4 separate regions of the Homo sapiens genome follow, and all the other regions are linked to region 1. Evidence: promoter capture Hi-C in human tissues and cell types (Jung and others, 2019). All regions are on one chromosome and are shown on one strand. Each heading gives the region's core, a stretch centred on a gene start or on the middle of the fragment in contact. The rest is flanking DNA. Distances are from core to core; before and after follow the strand shown.

What was found. The method cuts DNA at HindIII sites, captures the fragments that hold promoters and counts their contacts. A contact is called where the count stands out against the background at its distance.
Region 2: a contact is called between a fragment that was not itself captured here and the fragment with the promoter of HEPACAM in region 1, in 1 of the 25 tissues and cell types used here (H1 embryonic stem cells).
Region 3: a fragment that was not itself captured here is called in contact with the fragment with the promoter of HEPACAM in region 1 in 1 of the 25 tissues and cell types used here (psoas muscle).
Region 4: a fragment that was not itself captured here is called in contact with the fragment with the promoter of HEPACAM in region 1 in 1 of the 25 tissues and cell types used here (hippocampus).

The regions. Positions count from the first base shown.
Region 1 is chr11:124,933,010-124,938,352 of GRCh38, forward strand. HEPACAM (hepatic and glial cell adhesion molecule) reads right to left here and starts at 3,038. Exons shown (of 7, transcript NM_152722.5): 1 at 2,913-3,038. The coding sequence starts at 2,997. The region is part of intron 1 of LOC107984406 (a long non-coding RNA gene); the gene reads left to right. The HindIII fragment of the contact is 7,366 bases long and covers 2,043-5,343 here.
Region 2 is chr11:125,978,109-125,983,375 of GRCh38, forward strand. It overlaps CDON (cell adhesion associated, oncogene regulated), which reads right to left. Exons shown (of 20, transcript NM_001378964.1): 17 at 2,941-3,221; 18 at 196-275. Among named protein-coding and RNA genes, the nearest start is that of VSIG10L2, 35 kb to the left of the region's middle. The HindIII fragment of the contact is 5,028 bases long and covers 613-5,267 here.
Region 3 is chr11:126,691,135-126,695,829 of GRCh38, forward strand. All of the region lies in intron 1 of KIRREL3 (kirre like nephrin family adhesion molecule 3), which reads right to left. Among named protein-coding and RNA genes, the nearest start is that of KIRREL3-AS4, 41 kb to the left of the region's middle. The HindIII fragment of the contact is 3,345 bases long and covers 741-4,085 here.
Region 4 is chr11:126,467,000-126,471,742 of GRCh38, forward strand. All of the region lies in intron 5 of KIRREL3 (kirre like nephrin family adhesion molecule 3), which reads right to left. Among named protein-coding and RNA genes, the nearest start is that of KIRREL3-AS1, 74 kb to the right of the region's middle. RefSeq lists an enhancer at 1-392. The HindIII fragment of the contact is 5,277 bases long and covers 581-4,743 here.

The DNA.
Region 1 (5,343 bases), core at 1,788-4,287:
CAGAAGCAAACATTTTCCTAAATAATATATTAGGGATGGCAGGGATTCCTTCTAGAATCTCAGCTCTTATTACTCTTTAGTCCACAGCAGTACAATGGCCTCTCCCAGCACTTACCTCTTATCTATCATAGGTCATTAACTAATATCCTATTAGCATAACTTACATTATAATTTTTTTTTTTGAGAAAGGTTCTTGGTGTTACCCAGGCTGAAGTGCAGTGACGTGATCATGGCTCACTGCAGCCTTGACCTCCCTGGTTCAAGCAATCCTCCCACCTCAGCCTCCTGAGTAGCTGGAATTACAAGCGTGCACCACTAGGTCTGGCTAATTTTTTCATTTTTGTAGAGATGGGGTTTCGCCATGTTCCTCAGGCTGGTCTCGAACTCCTGGGCTCAAGCAATCCAACTGCCTAGGCCTCCCAAAGTTCTGAGATTACAAGCATGAGCCACCGCTCCCGGCCACATTTAGAATGTTTTGGTGTATTTACTAAGTTACATTTTTCCACATAGAATATCCTTGATCACCTTTTGTTTTGTCCCAGTCTTACTGACCGACGTGATCTTTCTATAATTTTTTTCCTTACCATTTGATGACCGGAAAGAGTTTAGGGCCATCTCTGCTTTGTATATTTGTGTCGTTCCTATTCTCAACTCACTGTCTCCATACCTTCAGCTCTCATTATTTCTTCAGCTCATTGTCATTTCACCAAAGCCAACAGTAACCTCTTAATTGCCTTATCCAATGGGCTCTTTTGGGTCTTTGTCACATTGGATCTCTTTGACAACTTCAATGGTATTGATCTACTCCTGAAAACTCTCAACTCCCTTGATTTTCTGGACAGCACCACAGGCTTCTAGTCCTTCTGTCTCTCTGGCTGTTCTCTCTTTGTCTCCTTAATGGGCATTTCTTCCTCTGCTTCCTCTACAAATCTTGAGGTTACATGATGTTTCATTTTCATCCCACGTTTTTCCCTTCCTAAGTAATATTATCTATTCTTATTGTTTTAACTCTCACCTATGGGCTAACGGCTGCCAAATACCTCTCTCCAACCCTGACCTCTCTGCCACCCAACTCCAGGCTATGTGACATCTTCACACGGAAGCCTCATAAGTATTTCAATCTAAACATGTATGATACTCATTTTTTTTGTTTAAGGTTTCACACAGCAATCCTCCTTCCCTTCCTAAATCCTCCTACTTCCTACAGGTCACTAGCTCCTGACTTTACCTCTAAAATATTTTCTCAACATGCCTCATTCCTTCTATCTTTATTATAATTTCAGTCCATGTTATTTCTCCTATTTCTCTCTTGATCTATTGCAATAGCTTTTTGACCTGTGTTCCCCTCAAATTCATACGTTGGAGTCCTAACCCCCAAGTACCTCAGAATGTGAACTTATTTGGCAATGGGGTCACTGCAGATCTAATAAGAAGGGATCATACTGGAGTAGGATGGACCTAATCTAGTATGTGTCCTTATAAAAAGGGGAAATGTGGACATAGACATGCAAACACGGGGAATGCCATACCAAGACTGGAGTGATGCTGCCACAAGTCAAGGAATTACCAGAAGCTAGGAGAGAACCCTAAGGCAGAGCCCTCCCTAGAAGCTTCAGAGAGAGCATGGCCCTGCTGACACCTCGATCTCCCACTTCTGGCTTCCACGACTTTGAGATAATGCATTTCTGTTGTTTAAGCCACTCAGTTTGTGGTATTTTGTTATAGGAGCCCTAGAAAATGAATACAAACTTCCTTTCTTATTTTATTTGCCTCCAGTTTCCCCTCGAATGACCCCCTGCAGACTGAGTAAGCTATCTGAAAGGTACATGTAACCCTGACAGTCCCCAAATTAAAAACCGCTCATTCCCTCACCTCTCAATCCCCAGATTACGAGTCTGGTTTACAAAGCTCTTGCCTCACTCAATTCATGCTTTTCTCTCCAGCAGTGATGAACTGCTGGGCTCTGACTAAACACTTGATGTTATTTCAAGCTGTTGACCTTTGCTCATTTCCCAACCCTAACACCCACTTATACTCCTACCTTTTTTCCCCATCTTTTAAAATTCAGTGCACACATTCCTTCTACCAGAAAACCTCCCCCTGATATTCCCACACCCTGTGTCCTACCCTACCAACACCCCCTCCACCAGCACCAGCTTCCTGGATGGGGTAGGTGACCTTTCTCTGATTGCTATGCATTCTCTGCATAATTGACTTATGATAGTTCCTGCAGTTTAGTAAAATGATCTCCACATCTGTTTGCCTCACTAAGTTGTGAATTCCTAGGTGCTCTGTAATTGTGTGTGTGTGTGTGTGTGTATATGTGTATGTACTCATAAATAGGTATATTTAAATAAGATCACTTCTCAAAGGATTGGTAGGGGGCGGTAGAGGAGGTAAGCAGCTATGGAGTGGAGTGAATTATGGATAGGTGGGTATGACTATCCCACATTAGGAGGCTCATTATCTCCAAAGCTTCTTTCATCTGCCTTACTCTTTTACACACAGAGAAGCCAGAGTCGGGGGCTGGGGAGGTATAAAAAGAAAATTTCCCCTACCCCTACCCATCAAGCCCCACCACAATCCCTTGGAAAGAATGCCAGACTGGCCCACGCCAACAAGTCATCCCATACGAAATGGCCCAGTGCCCGCCATCTAATGTACTGAATGCCGTGGGAGCTCCAAAGTCATGCAGCCTTTTGGGGGAAGGGGGTAGGGGCCGCGCGGGAGGCACACAAAATAAAGAAATACGTTCAACGCTAATGCCTGAATTCCCTGACATGTTTCCCACGGCAGCTGAACTCTCCCCCACTCCTGCCCCAAAGGCATTCAGGCCCTCCACTCTCCCCTCCGTCTGCTGTAAAAGCCCCGGGTCCTTTCTTCAGACCCTTTCTTACCCTCTGGCCTCCTACCTGTCTGGATCAGAAGAAGGTAGACAAAAGGAGCAAGGCGCAGGGCCCTGGAGGCTCTGGACAGGGCTCCCCTTTCTCTCTTCATTTTGGGTGGCGTTCTCCAGCTCTAGTGCAGACAATTAGCATGATTTCTCCACTCTGGGCACGTCCCCTTTGTACCACTCGGAGTTTCTCTGCCCGAACACAACCCTGCCAACTTCCCTCTGAATACACAGAGCTCTGTGTATTGCTGGACTTGTTCTTTCCTCTCCCTCAGACCTGGCATTTTCTAGTTTCCAAGCCCTACATCCCCAGTTTGGAAGCAGGTATCTGCTTAGGAGATAATCTCCAACTCAGGTTCCAACATGGGGGGCACCGGCAGCCCAGCAGTTGGTTGCTTGTCTGTGCTGAGCCTCACTACCCAGGGAGATGAGGATCTGGGCTCAGAGCACTGAGCTGGGACACACACTTAACTGGACTTTGTGTCCCAACCTACCCTGTCTCCACCTAACACTCCTTCTCCCTGAGGAGGAGGGTACATGCCAGGACAGACCTCCAATAAGCTCTGAAAAGGGAGGGAGAAGAGATTTTAAAAAGCTGGGAAGTGAAAGACTCCAGACAACTGCTGAAGAAATGGAAAACCCCTGTTCCATCCCAAAGGAAGAAGACTGGAAAACAGCTTGAATTCTATTATTGTTACACTTGTCTTTCCGTGGCTTGGAATTTTCTCTTCTATCATAGAATCACATAGATGCTGGACACCTCTTTCCAGAAGCCACTCTGTTCATTCCCCTGCTTTCAGGCAATTTTCTAGAACATGTCTGAGCAAAATGAAGGTCATCTCCTAACAGCCAGCATCCTAGGGTTCTGTTACCAGCTTAACAGCCTAGCTGTGCCCTCCTGTTTTGAGGCTGTGAAGAGGAGAAACACTCTAGCTCTACTCTGACCCCCATTCATGTGTTCACACCTTTTCATGAGGGCGGCCAAGGGAATGGATGCCTAGTAACTGTGATCTTGGGATGGGCTCGCAACCTCTTTGAGCCTTCAATTTCTCATCTGTAAAATGGGGAAAAGAAGAGCTTCCTTGAGGGGAATTGTTGGGAGCGTTGATGGAGATTTGGTACAGAAGAGTACCTAGCAAATCCTTTGTTACAGAGATGATGTTTTAAACTTTTTAAAAATTGCCTTGTTTCTTTTTTCATTCATGCTGGGATCTTTATATTTTTGGGAGACCAAACTTCACAACTTCCTTCTTGGTCATCCCTAACCCCTGGTCTTGGTTTTGTAAGTGCAGCAATTATCTCTCTAAATATTCTTTTTACATACTGGAGAAAGCCTGAGTAGGTCAACTTTCTAGAACTGAAGCATTATTACATAGCCCTTCTGAGCCTCGGCAGAGGGAGAAGAGTTGGGAAGCACTGAACTTCACAGACCTCTCTGAAAACATTCTGAAATATATAAAGGGGATTCTTTTTTCCTTTTGCATTTCTGTGTTTATGACTTTTCCCTAGACAACTCAAGGCACCTTTCTTCCACTGGAAGAGGTAATGTTATTATAGCAGGTACACAAAAAGAGTCAATATTCAGCTTCTGACATTTAAAATAGCATTTCAAAGTCCATAGCAAGATGAAAGGCTTAGCCAGTCTTTGTAAGGGACAAAAGAGCATTCTAATTTCTTTTATCTACCCCTTGACATATCATAGATCAGCCTGTGGACTGGATCACAGAGTCCTTCTGGAGTGTAGATAAATGGCCTCTTTGCCTGTGATGGCTGGGCCTTGAGGCTTATGGATGGGAGTAAAAGGAGGATGCAGTGTTTGGGAAATAGAAAGCCCGAAGTCTGCCCTTGTTATCCTGAAGCACTGTGGAAAGAAAAATGTGCTAGAGGGAGACTAAAAGGATCTAAGTTCTCAATATCCCCACTTCCCCGCCCCAGAGGTGGCTCTTTATACCTGCACAGAATTTGCAAGGGCTTCTAGGTGTCCAGAAGCCCTTTAGGAGACTCAGAAGTGCCGAGAGGGTAAAGAACTGGCAGGAAACAGAAGATTGAGCAAAGGCACTGCCATGTACGGGGATTCTGAGGCCAGAGGCAACAGCTGGGACCACCTACTGCTGTGGTGGGAGCCTCAGGTAGCTCATCAGGCCAGGAAAAAATGTAGACCCTGAGTAGAGACTGGTGGGAAACCTGAGAATACCACACAGGTCCACAGACACTGTCTCCCCCTGTTGCCACAAGGTTACTTCAGCCACACCATGTATATTTACCCCAACTCTTATTAGAGAGGAGCTGGGATTGGGAGAGGACATTGGAAAGACTGCTTGAGCAATTGCCTGAGCTGTCCAAGCAGAGACTGAGCTACCTAAAGACAGTGTGAAAATGGTTGGATCAGACTGGGCTTACTGAGATGGAGTGATATTTTCCTCTGCTACCCTGGGGGCGGTGAGAGGTTC
Region 2 (5,267 bases), core at 1,877-4,376, 1.0 Mb after region 1:
GAAGAAACCGAGGCACAAAAAGACAAAAATTGGAAAGCAGAGGCAAAAAATTAGTAACAGCTTTAAATTTAAGATTGCAAATCCTGAACTTTATATCCTAGGTAAAATTCCAAGAACTTTCTTTGCTGAAGGGAAAAATAAAAGGATGCATATGCCTTATTCACAACAGCTTGTGCAGACACATTATTAACATACCTATTGTTGTTTCGACAATTTCGGCAGTTAACACACTCCAGAGGGTCAATCTGAGGCACGGCCGTGTACATTCCACCACCCTGGACAGGAAGGAGTGTCAGAGAAAAAGAAAAGAAGAAGGAATGCTGAAGGTACTCACAGACCAGTAGCCAAATAATCACAAATACACATGAGCCATGTCAACCATAAATGGGCACACAGTATATTCTAACCAACTCCCAGAGCAACGTCATTGTGAATATCACTGACCCATATTCACAAAGGAGTGAATGAGAGTTCTGCATTAGATTTAACTGTATTCCAAAAACTTCACTGCCATGTTTTCCTACGTATTTCTGTACTAGACAAAGGTAAATAAATGAAGGGAAAAGTTTAGTCACTTCCCTTCAAATCTAGTGGGCTCAAAATACATTATATGTTATAGCCTCCATTCATTTTCCCTTTCTTGGCAGTCAGGGAAGAATTTCATGTGATACCAGTTGGAGAAACAGGGTGTAAAACCTGTGTAGATGATGTCACATGATAAACTCATCTTCATTTTCCTGTAATTATTTCAATTAGGTCTGTTCACTTGACAACGCTAAGTTTTAAAGCATGCTATATTTTTCCAGATGGAGTAGATCTTCAGCCAGCAATGACTTGGAGGGGGTGTGTTAATATTTGGATGTTGCTTTTGGCGGAAACTGCCCAGCAATTAAGAAAAATGCCCAGATTAACACATACCTCATTGTAAAATGTTCACTTGACAGACAGCAAGGTTCTTCAAAAATGAAGTTAAAAATTAAACTAGCCTGATAGTCAGAGGCAGAATTCTGCTTTCAGAAGAAAAACAGCAGAACTGAATTTGATAAAAGGTGGGAGAGGCTGTCACACTGCACCCAAACCCAAAGCAGGCCTTCAAGGTTAGGAAAAGTTCAGGCAATTGTTTTTCCTAGAATACTTTCCATTTCCATTCATTTCATAACAGTAGCCAGAATCTAAGCAAACCAAAAGTCCTGAAAATTTCCTTCAGTGTTTCTGATCCAACCAGCAACAGGAATTATTAAGAACATATCGAGAGAAAGAACTCTCCTATACTATATTCCATCTGAGGGAAAACCTGAAAGGCTCAGAAAATGAAGTTCACAACCTGCAGGGTAACGTTGTGACTTACGGATTCTCTGAATCCCTCAACACGTTGAAGTTAGTGCAATGATTTTTAGGGTCACTAACACTGTTAAAATTTCTCTATTTCCCCCACCCAGAAAAGTAAGAAAACGAATAATTTAGAATCACAGATAACTTCTGACATTGTACACCAAATGGGGCACCTATTATTTAAATAGAAATTCATTGTTCAAAAAACCCAAGGTTCCGTGTTCAAACACTAAAGCGAACATGGGCCTTATGTTTTCTTCTTATGGAAACAGTGTGTGCTATTCAAATGTTAATGCTCTCTCCTTCAGTTTTCTTGGACAATGGTAGTAGTTTGGACTAGGAATGGTGACCAAAAAAGCTTAGAAAGTCTGAATACATGCTGTATCTTTCCACACAAAATAGTGAAATCATGATTCTCTTTTAGTAATGAGATGCATTAAAGCAAATTAATATTTCTTCCACAACATACAAAAGCTAGGTCACATAAAAGCTATTCAATTTCTAGCTTTAAAATATGAGTATATATTAGTTTTGTTCTCCAAATAGATTTTAATAAATCTTTAATAAACTGAAGATGGGGGGAAAAAAAACTCTAAGCTTCTTCAAATTGTAGCACATTGTGGGTCATGGTAAATTTATTTGTAATCAGAACAATGACAAAAACTGAATGCTTAATTCCATCAATTAAACAAATTATCTATTTGATCAAAAGTAATATAGATGTGCATCCAAACAATGTCATAAATCAAACTTTCTAGTGCAGAGAACCCCACGTAAGTCTAAAATATGCTAGTCATTCTACTACCATTTCAAAAATTAAACGCTATCAACTAGTTATCTCTGAAATAAGGTTGTCTTAAGGGTTTATCACTCTTTGTGTGGCTAAAGAATACTAACATTGTAAAATGTAAAAAGCTTACCAGCCACAACAACAAAACATATTGGGCAAAACAAACAAAAGAAGCCCATGAAAGGTCAGAAGTCACAACCCGGTGGCCTGCAGAGATGTTTGGCATGGCCTACGTATGTTTTCAAAAATTTGAATTAGGTGCCAGCATGTAAAAATCTGTCAATTTCACTTGGATTTACAGAGGTTTTGAAAAATCAGAAAATTTGGCAACACTGCGCCCTCAGTCCATGACGACTGTAAGTGTCAAACCGCGGCTGCTTCCTGAAGACACTGTCTGTGCTCTCCAGGTGGCCATCGCCTCCAGTGCTACCATCTCACTCCCACAATTTCCTGATCTGCCTGACTCTTTTCGGCATTTGCATTTTCAAGACCCTGCTCTCGATAAATCAAATTTAAAGTATTTGGTATTTCCATTTCATCTAAAGAACAACTTCCAGTCTGTTCACTGCTGGTATTCCACTTTCAGTGTTAAATAATTTTAAAATGAAACTAAACTGATGAACATAACTATTACCTGGCAATAGAAAACAACTTACAAAGACTACTCTGGATCAAAGGGCTGCCAGTGATCCATGCTGTTTCCATTCGAGGAAACTTGTGAGGTTTCTATACTGAACAAAGCCAAGCATGCTGTCCCTGTTCTAGTACTTGGCACCCTGAGGGACAGAGGGGCTTTTATTTATAGTTAGGTCTCTTACATTCACTAGATGATGAGGATGTTCAAAATCCACGTGTGTCCTGGTTAGAGAGTTGCTGTGCCCGGAGTAAAGCCCTCCATTTAGGCTCCCATTCACAATTCCATTGACTGCATTGGGGACCTTATGGTGAAGGTGGGAATAGCCACTGCTGAGACCGCCATTGGTTAGGAAGCCTCCGTGAACATTTCCATTTATCTGACTTGCTCCTGAGAGAGTGGTGTAGTCCACCATCTGCCCGTTCATATCTGATCCTTGGTAGAGATATCCTGGTGGGTCATATTCTGTTAAAAGAGAACAAAAAAGACACACACGCACACACACACACGCACGCACACATGCACATACGCACACACGCATGCACACATGCACATACGCACACACGCACACACGCACACAGTAAGACACTAAAAAGGACAATCTTCTTGCTGAGAAGGTCTTACAGATAAAACCCCTACGAAACTACAAATAGACTAAAATAAAAACATTTTTAAAATGTTCACTTAAAGCCTACTTGTAAGACATGCTTTAATAAAGTTACTGCTATTATTTTCCATAGAGTGTAGAGATAGCTGTGAACTCTGAGTTAATTATGATTCTGTTAACGGGAAGAAAAATCACCTAGGGAGAAATTACTCAAAAGAGAATGAATATATTGGGCAAGCTGAAACTATCAGAGTACTGGCAATACTAGGAAAAAGTGCTTAAACTCCTATATATTATACTTCTAAGTGCTGAAAAAAACTGCATAAAATGACAACAAAAGACTAGCTTTAGGTGGGGTATTTCAAGTAGCAATAAACAACTCTGTTAAGTAAAAGGATGGAGTTGTATATACAGTCACTGATCATTCATATAGCTCCTTAGTCATTACAGCCAATTTGGAAGGTGTGGAGTACCAAAGGCAAAAAGTGATTCTATTTTCTTTTTTTTTTTTTTTTTTTTTTTTTTTTTTGAGATGGAGTTTCGCTCTTGTTGCCCAGGCTGGAGTGCAATGGCGTGATCTTGGCTCACTGCAACCTCTGCCTCCCGGGTTCAAGCAATTCTCCTGCTTCAACCTCCCAAGTAGCTTGTGCGTGCCACCACATCCGGCTAATTCTTTGTATTTTTAGTAGAGACAGGGTTTCACCGTGCTAGCCAGGTTGGTTTCGATCTCCTGACCTCGTGATCCGCCCACCTCGGCTTCCCAAAGTGCTATGATTACAGGCGTGAGCCACTCCGCCCAGCCTTCTATTTTCTTCTATTAAAAGCATACAAATGACTGCCTCAAAACTGATTTCCAGAGGCACATCTACCAGATATATTTAGAAAAAGTAAAGTATCTCTTAGAAACTAGAGTGTCCAAACTGTACAGGATTTGTTGTTGGAGTCTGGATAAATTCTTCGAAGGTAGGAGAGCTTGCCAAGGCTGGATTAGGTGTCCCTCCTTTCCTTAGCTGCCCACATTACTGTGTGCTCTCGCCCAGGTGTGTAGTCTCAGTACACCTGCTTGTGGTCTCACTAAGCTACACACTTTGAGAGGGCAGAGGTGGTGTTTATTTTATTTACCATTACATCTCCACTGTCCAGAACAGTGCCTGGTATACAGAAGACGATGATTATCTTTTGAATAAATGACTGAATGAACACCACCATGAGAATTTTCCATTTTTAAACATTATCAGGTCACAAAGTAGGATGACTTTAATCTGATTAATATGGCTGGGACGACCAGATTAATGTTCTCTTTTAATGATTCAACACGCACTCACACAATTAAAGGCAATGGCATTAAAACCATTTAGAAAATCAAATGATCACCATCCCTTTCAGATTAATACTTCTCTTTTCATGATTCAACACGCACTCACACAATTAAAGGCGATGGCATTAAAACCACTTAGAAAATCAAATGATCACCATCCATTTCAGCCTGATGCAGCCACCATCTCTCCCCCTATCTCTTGGAAGGCATCATTCAATACAAACAGAGTACTTTCTTCCCCCAGAACTGGTAACTAAAAGGGGAGCATGCGTGAGAACTGGCTAACAGCCACTGGAAGTGCCTGCTGGGGTCCTCCCTCACTTTTCTTTCATTTCCTTATTCTGGAGCCAAAGGGGAAACCAAAAAACTTCCTCCCACCAAAGACTAAACTCTCTGCTTGATTTGATTACCCTATTTTATAATAGCTGAGATAACAGGAAAAGTAGGACAGTGAGGTGAAGAGAACTGAAGGAAGAGAAAAGAGAAAGGGGGTTCTAGGTTACTTCACTGTTATTTCAAAGCAGGGCCATCATCGATGTTCAAGCACACGTATTCCTAGACACACTCCAGGGAGAGGACGCCATGC
Region 3 (4,695 bases), core at 1,163-3,662, 1.8 Mb after region 1:
ATGACAATATCGGGTGTTGGAGGGAGTGTGGATCTGCAGAAGGTTTTGTGCAGTGCTGATGGGAAGGAGAAATTGTACAGCCACTTTGTCATGATCTCGTAAAGTTGATCATTCAAATGCTCCATCATCCATCAATCCCACTCTTAGGAAGTCAGACAAGGGCAACTCTCTCTCACGTATACCAGCAGACATGTATGAGAACGGTCATTTCAGCACTATTTATATAAAGCAAAACTTGGGGGCAATACAAATGTTCTCTGACAGGAGACTGGATCAATATATTGTGGTGTGCCTATTTAATGGAATAATAAACCTCAGTCAAAATGAATGAACAATAGTCCCATGCAACAATATGAATTAGTTTTAGCAGCAGAATTCAAGTGCAAAAAGTCTCAGAAGAATGCATATTGCATGATACCCTTTGTAGACGGTTAAAATAAATCCAAACTGAAAATTCTTCTTTTTTTAAAAAAAATATATGTAGCAGTAGTAAAACTTTGTTTGAAAAAAGGGAAAGCAAGTCAATGATGAACATAAGATTCGAGAAAGTGCTTAGTTACTTTGGGTAGAGGAAGAGAAAGGATGCATTGAAGATTGATGTTGCTACTCTAGTTTTCTTGTTTGTTTGGTAATTTAAAGAATGTTTATTATAGTACTGAAGAGAAATACATAAATACAGCAATAAAAAATCAAATAACCAGATTTAAAAAAAATGGGAAAAGGACTTGAATAGACATTTCTCCAAAGATGATTTACAAATGGCCAAGAAGCATATGGAAAGATGTTAAACATCACTAATCATCAGAGATTTGCAAATCGAAATGATAGTGAGGTATCACCTCACACCCATTACGATAGCCACTATAGAGAAAAGCCAGAATATAGCAAATGTCGGTAAGAGCGTGGAGAAATTGGGACCCTTGTGCACTGTTGGTGGTGTTGTAAAATGGTGCAACTGCTATGGATAACACAATGAAGGTTCCTTAAAAAATTAAAAATAGGACCACCATCTGATGCAGCAGTTCCACTTCTGAGTAGACATCCAGAAACATTAAAAGCAGGGTGTCGATTCGCACACCCACGTTCACAGCCACACTATTCACAATAAATAGCTAAGAGGTGGAAATAGGCTGGGCACGGTGGTTCAGGCCTGTAATCCTAGCACTTTCGGAAGCCAAGGCAGGAAGATCACTTGAGGTCAGGAGTTCGAGACCAGTCTGGCCAACATGGAGAAACCCTGCGTCTATTAAAAATACAAAAATTAGCTGGGTGTGGTGGCACACACCTGTAGTCTCAGCTCCTCAGGAGGCTGAGGCAGGAGGATCACTTGAACCCATGAGGCGGAGGTTGCAGTGAGCTAAGACTGCACCAATGCACTCCAGCCTGGGTGACAGACCAAGACTCTGTCTCAAAAAAAAAAAAAAAAAAAAAAAAAAAAGGAGGTGGAAACAACCCAAGTATTCATCAATGATGAATGGATAAACAAAATATAGCATATACATACAATGGAATATTCTTCAGCTTTAAAAAGGAAGGAAAACCTTCCATATGCTACAACATAGATGAACCTTGAAGACATTACGCTAAGTGAAACAAGCCAGTCACAAAAGGACAAATATTGTATGACTTCACATCTATGAGGGTCTAACATGGTCAGATTCATAGAAAAAACAGAAAGTAGGATGTTGATTACTAGGGACAGGTGACCCCTCCTTGGATCTACCCGCTTTGCAATGTGACTCTGCAGCTCTTCCCACCAACAGGTGGAGACTGCTTTCCCATCCCTTGGATCTGAGCTGGCCTGGTGACTTGCTTTGGCCCATAGCCTGTGGTGGAAGCGAGGCTGTGCTGGTGCTGAGCCAAGACCTCAAGAAGCTTGCATGCTCCTGCTCACGCCCTTGGAAAACAGACATGTGAGGCCATCCTAGACCAGCCACCCTCTAGGTGACCCTCCAGGTGACTGCAGATAGATGAGTGAGTGCAGTTAAATTCAGCTGTGCTGGGCCAGGCACTGTGGCTCACGCCTGTAATCCCAGTACTTTGGGAGGCGAAGGCAGGCAGACTGCCTGAGATCAGGAGTTTGAGACCAGCCTGGGCAACACAGCGAAACCCTGTCTCCAGTAAAATACAAAAAAAATTAGCCGGGCGTGGTGGCGCGCACCTGTAATCCCAGCTACTCAGGAGGCTGAGGCAGGAGAATTGTTTGAACCTGGGAGGTAGATGTTGCAGTGAGCTGAGATTGCGCCATTGTACTCCAGCCTGGGTGACAGAGTGAGACTCTGTCTCAAACACAAACAAACAAACAAACAAAAAAACAACAAAAAAACTGGCTATCAGGAGATGAAGAATGCATCTGAAAGTCAACAAGGAGAGAAAGAGACTCTGCCGGCATGCCGTAAAAGCGTGCAAGTCATGGCAGGGGAACACATAAGTGTGTTACATCTGTATGCACATGCATGTGAGTGCCTGTGACCACACACACACACACACACACACACCCATAGTCAGAGGAAGCCTCAAATCAGGCTGAGTTTCCGAAGGGAAAATCTCATTTGTCCACCAGTGATAGCGTATGTAGCCTTCTACATTAATGTAAATTGAGGCAGGATTACCTTCTAGTGATAAAGTCGCATCTGGTAGCAGAGAAAAAGTGAGTGGAAACGGACACATTTCCAATCAGGCTCTGGCCTGGGCTGCAGCCCCACTCCGCTGAACACCTAGATACACCTTTTTAAAACCCAGGATCCTTCGGGCTCAGCCTCCTAGTCCTTGCCCCTTCCCCAGATCCCACCCCTGTCTGCCCACCTTGTCTTCTCGGGCCCTCAAAACTTAAGCCAGAAGTCTGGGCAGGCCAGTAGAGGAAGGAGCTGGGGCCCAGGCAGCCACAGGTTGAAGAGGCGGAGGGAAGCGGCACAGCTCACAGTCACACTAGGACAACTTGGAAGTTGAATTGGCAAGTTGCAGCAGGAGATGGGAGCATGGGCTCCATCCCTAAGGGAGCCACATTCGTTTTTTTTCCTTTCAAAGTCGTCAGGCAGTAAAAGAAAATTGCAGGGATGGGGAAATAATGAAAAAGGCTCTTTGTTTTTCCCCCAGTCCGAACTCCTAGCTCATCAAACCTTGGAAATGCTCACTGCAAATGGTTGTTCTTGTTTTATTGCTTATTTATGGGAATCTATTTAAAGTGAATTGCACTTTTCCATTGTATCCTAGTGAGCGTGCACCGGAGTTGTGTCTCCCCTGGCTGTGGGGCTGTCTGGACTGGGGATTCTGTCTGATTGTGTCAGCATCACGCTCCGTGACATTTAAAAGTGGGGAAGGAAAATACTGCAGAGGAAGCAGGGCGAGCGTGGAGAATGATTGCTCAGGCCTCCATCAGCTCCAGGCGGGTGTGGGGAATGCTGTTCTAGGGCAGGTTTGGGGGTGCTGACTAGGCCTTCACACAAAGAGGAATCTGCTCTTGTGGATGAATGAATGGCGGTGACAAATCAAACTTTAATCTGGCTCTGCTGTAAGCATTGTGACCTTAGGGCAGGTACTGACTTCTATGAGCCACCTTTTTTAAAAAAAATTCTCTACAGAGAGGTGAATACTGGGCTGTTGTTAATAATGATGATGGAATTCATTATATATATGAGAGTGCTTACTCAGTATCAGGTAGATGCTCACTAAATGTAAAACTCCCTTATAAGGGTGGCTGGAATGGGGACTGGAAGAGACAGGTAAGTCCCCAACCTATCTTCATTTTCTTAACCTATGCCTTTTGACTCAAAAAGAATGAAGGCTCCCTCACTCCTTTGCTTTGATTGGGAGATGAGATGCGAGTCTCAATGCCTAGAATGCTCTATAGCAGGGGTCAGCAAACTGGCTGAATCGGGCTGCTGTTCTGGTAGCTAAAGCATTATGGGAACCCATCCCTCACCCCCTTCTGTCTGCGAGCCATCTATGACAGCTTTCCTGCTACAGCGGCAGAGCAGGATAGCTATGAAAGAGACCGTGGGGCCCACAAAGCCGAAAGTATTTACTTTTTGGCCCTTTACAGAAAAAGTTTGCCAATCCCTGCTCTAATTCATTGGTATTTTGGGGTTCTCTTATCTGTGTGATCAGAAGGTCTGAGCCTCAGAGAAAGGAAGCAGCAACTTGTCCAAGATCACAAAGTTAGTGTTTGAGTTAGAACTGCAATCAGGTTTCCCAATTCCTGGCCCAGTGCTTTTCCATTGTTTAACTGTACCATTTCACAGAGATCCCAAAGCCATTGGGATTAGCTTTACCAAAAAAAAAAAAAAAAAAAAAAAAAGAGTCTCTAAGTCACGTGGCATCTGAGCTCCATGTGATTGGTAAAGTTGGCATTAGTCCCTGCCACATTTCCCAAGTCCCCACCTTCTCTGCTCACCACACCGCTGTCTCTCCAGGCTCAGCAAATACTTCTAGAGACACCGGTGTGTCCTTGTCCTGAAACCTTTGTGAGTCAGCTGCATTGACTCCTGCTCCAGGATGACGAGGGCCAATTCCTTGATGAAGGGCCATCTGCCTGTGTCTGGCTGCCTGTCTGTGAGCTTTCGTGTCTTGGGGGCTCTGCTGCATTGCAAGAAGGAGCTGGGACAGAGCTCTGAGAGAGGGGAAGGAGGCAGGGAGAGGGAGTTTGATTCCTGAAGAATCTTCCTTTTCCCATGAAGACAAGCAAGCTGATGGCCA
Region 4 (4,743 bases), core at 1,969-4,468, 1.5 Mb after region 1:
GAGTCCCCGAGGACCCAGCTCCTGTGTGTGCAGATATGGGCCAGGGGCAGGCATATAGATGGCGTGTGTGCAGCATGTGTCCGGGAACGAGCGTGCCAGGGCATACACCCCCGTGGGTATGTGCGCGTACCTGTTTTTGTCTTTGGGTGTTCATGGGCCTCTGTCCACTGACTGCCGTGACTCTGCGGGGCCCCAGGTTCTCTCTGGACGCTGCCTGCTCAGGTGCCGCCTCAGGGCTGTGCACCCACCCCCACTGCCCCTCCCTAAGGGCAGGGATTTGGCACTCACTTCTCTAGTTCCCCAGCACCGGCCTGGGAGGCCGGTCTTCCCAGGTATGGTTGTACACAGTGTACCCCACCCCATGGTTTTCCTGCTTGGGTGGCAGTGGCTGGCCACTCTGCTCTTTCCAAAGCCCCCAGGGCCTCCTCTGGGCAGTGGAGAGCCAGGCTGAGCTCTCGGAAATGGGTGGGCTGGAGGGCAGACAAGGGGTGGGGGCCCAAGCACTGGTGCTAAATATGGGGTGCCCGATGACAGGCAAACCGTCTGGAAAGGCCGAGAGTAGCCTGATTGCCTGGCAGCAAGGCCGCCTCGCTTCTCCCCGCTACTCACCTTCCCCACCTGCTGGGTCCCTTTTTTTTTTTTTTTAAAAAATCATGGCTCTGCTTCCCCTTTTGATAGCTGCTTGGGGCTCCCCATGGGCTGGTTGCCACCTGGCTTGAATAAGGGTGTGTGGGCCAGGTGGAGGATGCGCAGTGCTTTTTGCCCCAGTCCCTGCATCCAGCCTTGAGGCCAGAGGCCAGAGGGGTGCCCTTCACAGAGAAGGCCAGGATGAGCCTCGGCCACACCCAGTGGAGACTCTAGGCCCCTAAGCTGGGCAGATAGGTGCAGGGTGATGGGTGAGTGACCAGGGAGGGGGTGCCCAGTGGAGGGTGAGGGCCCTATGCATGTGGGCACTTATCCCTTTCCTGAGTGGGGTCTCCAGAGCTCCTCTTAGCAAAGGTGGTAAAAGGCGAGGCCAGTGGTCCTGGTGGTAGGGGTAGAGGGCAAGGGGCTCCAAGCAGACACAGACACGACTGTGCGTGCTAAGACCTTGCAACCCTCCTGCCTGGCAGGAAGCTGCACTTAGGAAGGGTTCTTTCTGGGCTCAGCCTGTCCTCTCGCCCCTCCTCTTCCGTAACCCATCCTTCCTCCCCTGCTGTGTGGACTTGGGGGCTTTCCAGAAGAAAGAATGTGGTCTCCACTCTGGCGCCAGGCCCTCAGAAGTATGAGGAACAGGGAAGGAACCCACTGTCCCCAGACAGCCCAGGGTTGAGTCTCCAGGAAGAAGCTTGGAGGGGCCTTTTCCTGCTCTGTGCCTCTGCAGCCGACACCCGCTGGGAGCCTGCAGTGGGCACTGCCCAAGGCCCCATCCGGCAGTGTGGCTCGCCCTGCACCCTGGAGGCTGTGACAGTGGCCTGTTAAGGAGAAGCATGGCCAGCCTGTGCTGGGGGAGGGACTGGGTGCTTCCTCTCCTGCCCTTCCTCCTGGGGAAGGGGCCTGGTGCCCTCCAGGGCTGAGGCTCATCCCTCCCCTACTGGTCCCATGGTGGAGTCACAGAGAGAATGGTCGGTGAGCAACCCAGAAACTTTGAGAACAGGCCTGGTGTTTTATGAAATAGCTGTATGACCCCTGGGGCAGGGAACTGGGGTTCCCCCTGTGGGACAGGAGCCAATAATAGTAGCTCACATTTATCCAGTCCTTACTCCTGCCCTTGACAGGGTGCTTCTGATGCATAATTTCTTGTAAGTCACTCTGCAACCCTAACAGACATCCGTGATCATTATCACTGCATTTTGCAGCTGGGGAAACTGAGGCAGAGGGTGACATCACCATGTTATGTTACGGATCCCAGGTTTGAGCTAGGCCTTCAGAACCATGTGGCCAGCCTAACTATGACACCGATGTCTGCATATGGGAAACGCGAGGTCCATAGTGGGGTGGACCTTGCAGCCGTGTGGATCCAGTGAGGGGGTGACAATCCCAACAGCAGTGCTTGTTGCAAGCTCGCTATGTGCCAGGCGTGTTTCTCATTCAACTCCTCACAAGCACCCCTTAAAGTGGGTGCTGCTGTCGTTCCCATTGTATGGCAAGGACAGGGAGGCACGGCAAGGTGAGGTCACGCAGCTGGAAGGTGGCAGAGCCCGGATCCAAATTCAGGCTGCCAGCTCCTGAGCCCACGGGGATAATCATCCACCATGTGACAGCCACTGAGGGCGTCAGACCCGACAGCAGCCAGGGCTGCCCTGAGGGGTCTTTTCTGGGGTCCTTGGAGGCTGCCTGATTTTGTGTGTGCTCCCAGCTTCTCTTCCTCTCTGCGGCTGATGCTCTGGCCCCTCCTCATATGTAGCCTCTCTGGGGAAGTCAGGAGTGCTGTTGGCCTATGGCAGGGCTCCTTGCAGCCCTGGGGGAGGAGGGGGTGGGCTGGGTCCCTGGGAGGGGAAGCAGAGGGGTTGGCTCGGACAGCCCCCAGAGCCTGCTCCATAGGAGCCCTGGATTGTGTAACCTACTGGGTATACTCCACATCACAGGCTTGTAGCTTCTCCCTGCCCGGCACACAGCCCCGTGCCTGGGGAAGCTCCACTGACGTGTGCGGGCTCTGCTGGTCACCCCTTTGGTCTCCATGAGAACCACTGGCCGTGGGGTGGACAGTTAGGATGGTGGATGACCATGGTTTGGAGGAGAGGCCCAGAGAAATGAAGTGCCTTGCCTTGGGACACAGGGCCTCTTCCCATGCTCATGTCCAGGGACACATTGAGGGTCTCAGGCCTCTGCTGCTCCCTGGACAAGCCACAGAGGGGCAGGAGACCATCTGAGGTGACTGTCCCCTGAGGAATCTGTTTCTCTTCCGGAGCGTCTGATCCAACACCTTCATTTTGCAGACGAGGAAACAGATGCCCAGGGAGTGAGTTGCCTGAGGTTATGCAGTGGAAGCTGGAACCCAGGCCTGCGACTGCCTGGCGCTGCCGTTCCCGTCACAGGCCCAGGAGCATGGATCGGGTCCCCCGCCCTGCTGTGCAGTAGTATGGTACCAGGCTCTCCGAGGGGCCTTCACAATGTAGACAAGGATGACATGTTGAGCTCAAGGTGATCCTGGGACAGGTCCAGCAGAGTGACCCTGACCTCTCTCTCCACCTGATGGCATGTGTCCTCTGCAGGACATTGACTCTGCTAGGGTCCAGGCTGGCCCAAGTTCAGGGAGGGACAGGACAGGTGCTCAGACTGGAAGGAAAGCCCCTATCCTTCCTTTTCATTCTCCTCTGGACAACTCTCTCTCTGTGTTATATCCTTGTATTACATAACAGGACAGGGTGGCTTCAGCCCAGGACATAAGGGAGAGGCTTGTCTTCCAAGAGGCAGCCATCCCTCCCTCCCCCTGGACTTGTGTCTGAGGGAAGGAGTTTGCCCTGGGTTCTGGCACCAGGTGCTGGGTTCTTTGATCGGCAGCCCTGGAGTGACCTCTTGGCAGGTGGTCAGTTTGGGACAGGAAAGACACACCCTCAGAGTGGGGACGGGCCTGCCTCACATCCTCGGATGACCAAGGCCCTGCTTATCTTTCCAGGATTGCTTAGAGGACTGGTGGGTAGGGGGAACCAGGCCGTGTATTTCCCCAGTCTCTGAGGACAAGGAAAACCCTCAGACCTGAGGCGAGCGGGCGTTCTGGAGGCTGGGCCCCCAGCTGCGGAGCTTGGGGGACCGGCTTGCCCTAGGAGGAGCATGGGCAAGGGCAGAGGCCAGGGTGTCAGGAATTGTGGTTCCAGGCCTGGCACTGCCCACTCCACCACTGAGAAGGACAGTCACTTCCCCACCAGGCCTCAATTTTCTAGCTGCAGACAAAAGAGGTTGGCCCAGGTATACTGTAAGGCCTCATTCATCTTAGAGGCTCTGTGGTACATTAACCCCATCTGGGACTCTATGCACAGTTTTGTTGAGTGGAGTTTGGTGGGGGCTGTTTAAAAATGTACCCAGAATTTTGTTTTTATTCAGGTAGAGGGAGGCCAACAGATCAGGAGACAACTGCCGTTGAAAAGACAGTTTGCGGCCGGGCGCAGTGGCTCAGTCCTGTAATCCCAGCACTTTGGGAGGCTGAGGCAGGTGGATCACCTGAGGTCGGGAGTTTGAGACCAGCCTGACCAACATGGAGTAACCCCGTCTCTTTTAAAAATACAAAAAAAGAAAAAAAAATTAGCTGGGCATGATGGCACACGCCTGCAATCCCAGCTATTCTGGAGGCTGAGGCAGGAGAATCACTTGAGCCCAGGAGGTGGAGGTTGCGGTGAGCTGAGATCACGCCATTGCACTCCAGTCTGGGCAACAAGAGTGAAACTCTGTCTCAAAATAAATAAATAAATAAATAAAATAAATAAAAAATAAAAAAAGAAAGAAAAAAAGAAAAGACAGTTTGCTACTCATAGTTCCCAGAGGAAGGGGAGGCCCCAGGGTCAGTTGGGGCTGGGGTGGGAGGTGTGGGGAGAGTGTGGGCACAGCCTCTGTTGTGGCTTGCTTTCATAGGAAGGAATGGTGAGGTAGGGTTGGTGGCTCAGCAGGTTTAGGATTGGATAGCTTGAATAATTTCCCTGGGCCCTGAGCTGTAGGGGTGGTCTGATGTGTGGCCCTGGGGAGATTTAGGGTAGGGGTATAATGTCCTGGACTATGGAGCCTGATGAAAAAAGGCTGTGGGGGCCTGGGCTCTGGATTGGTTGGTCT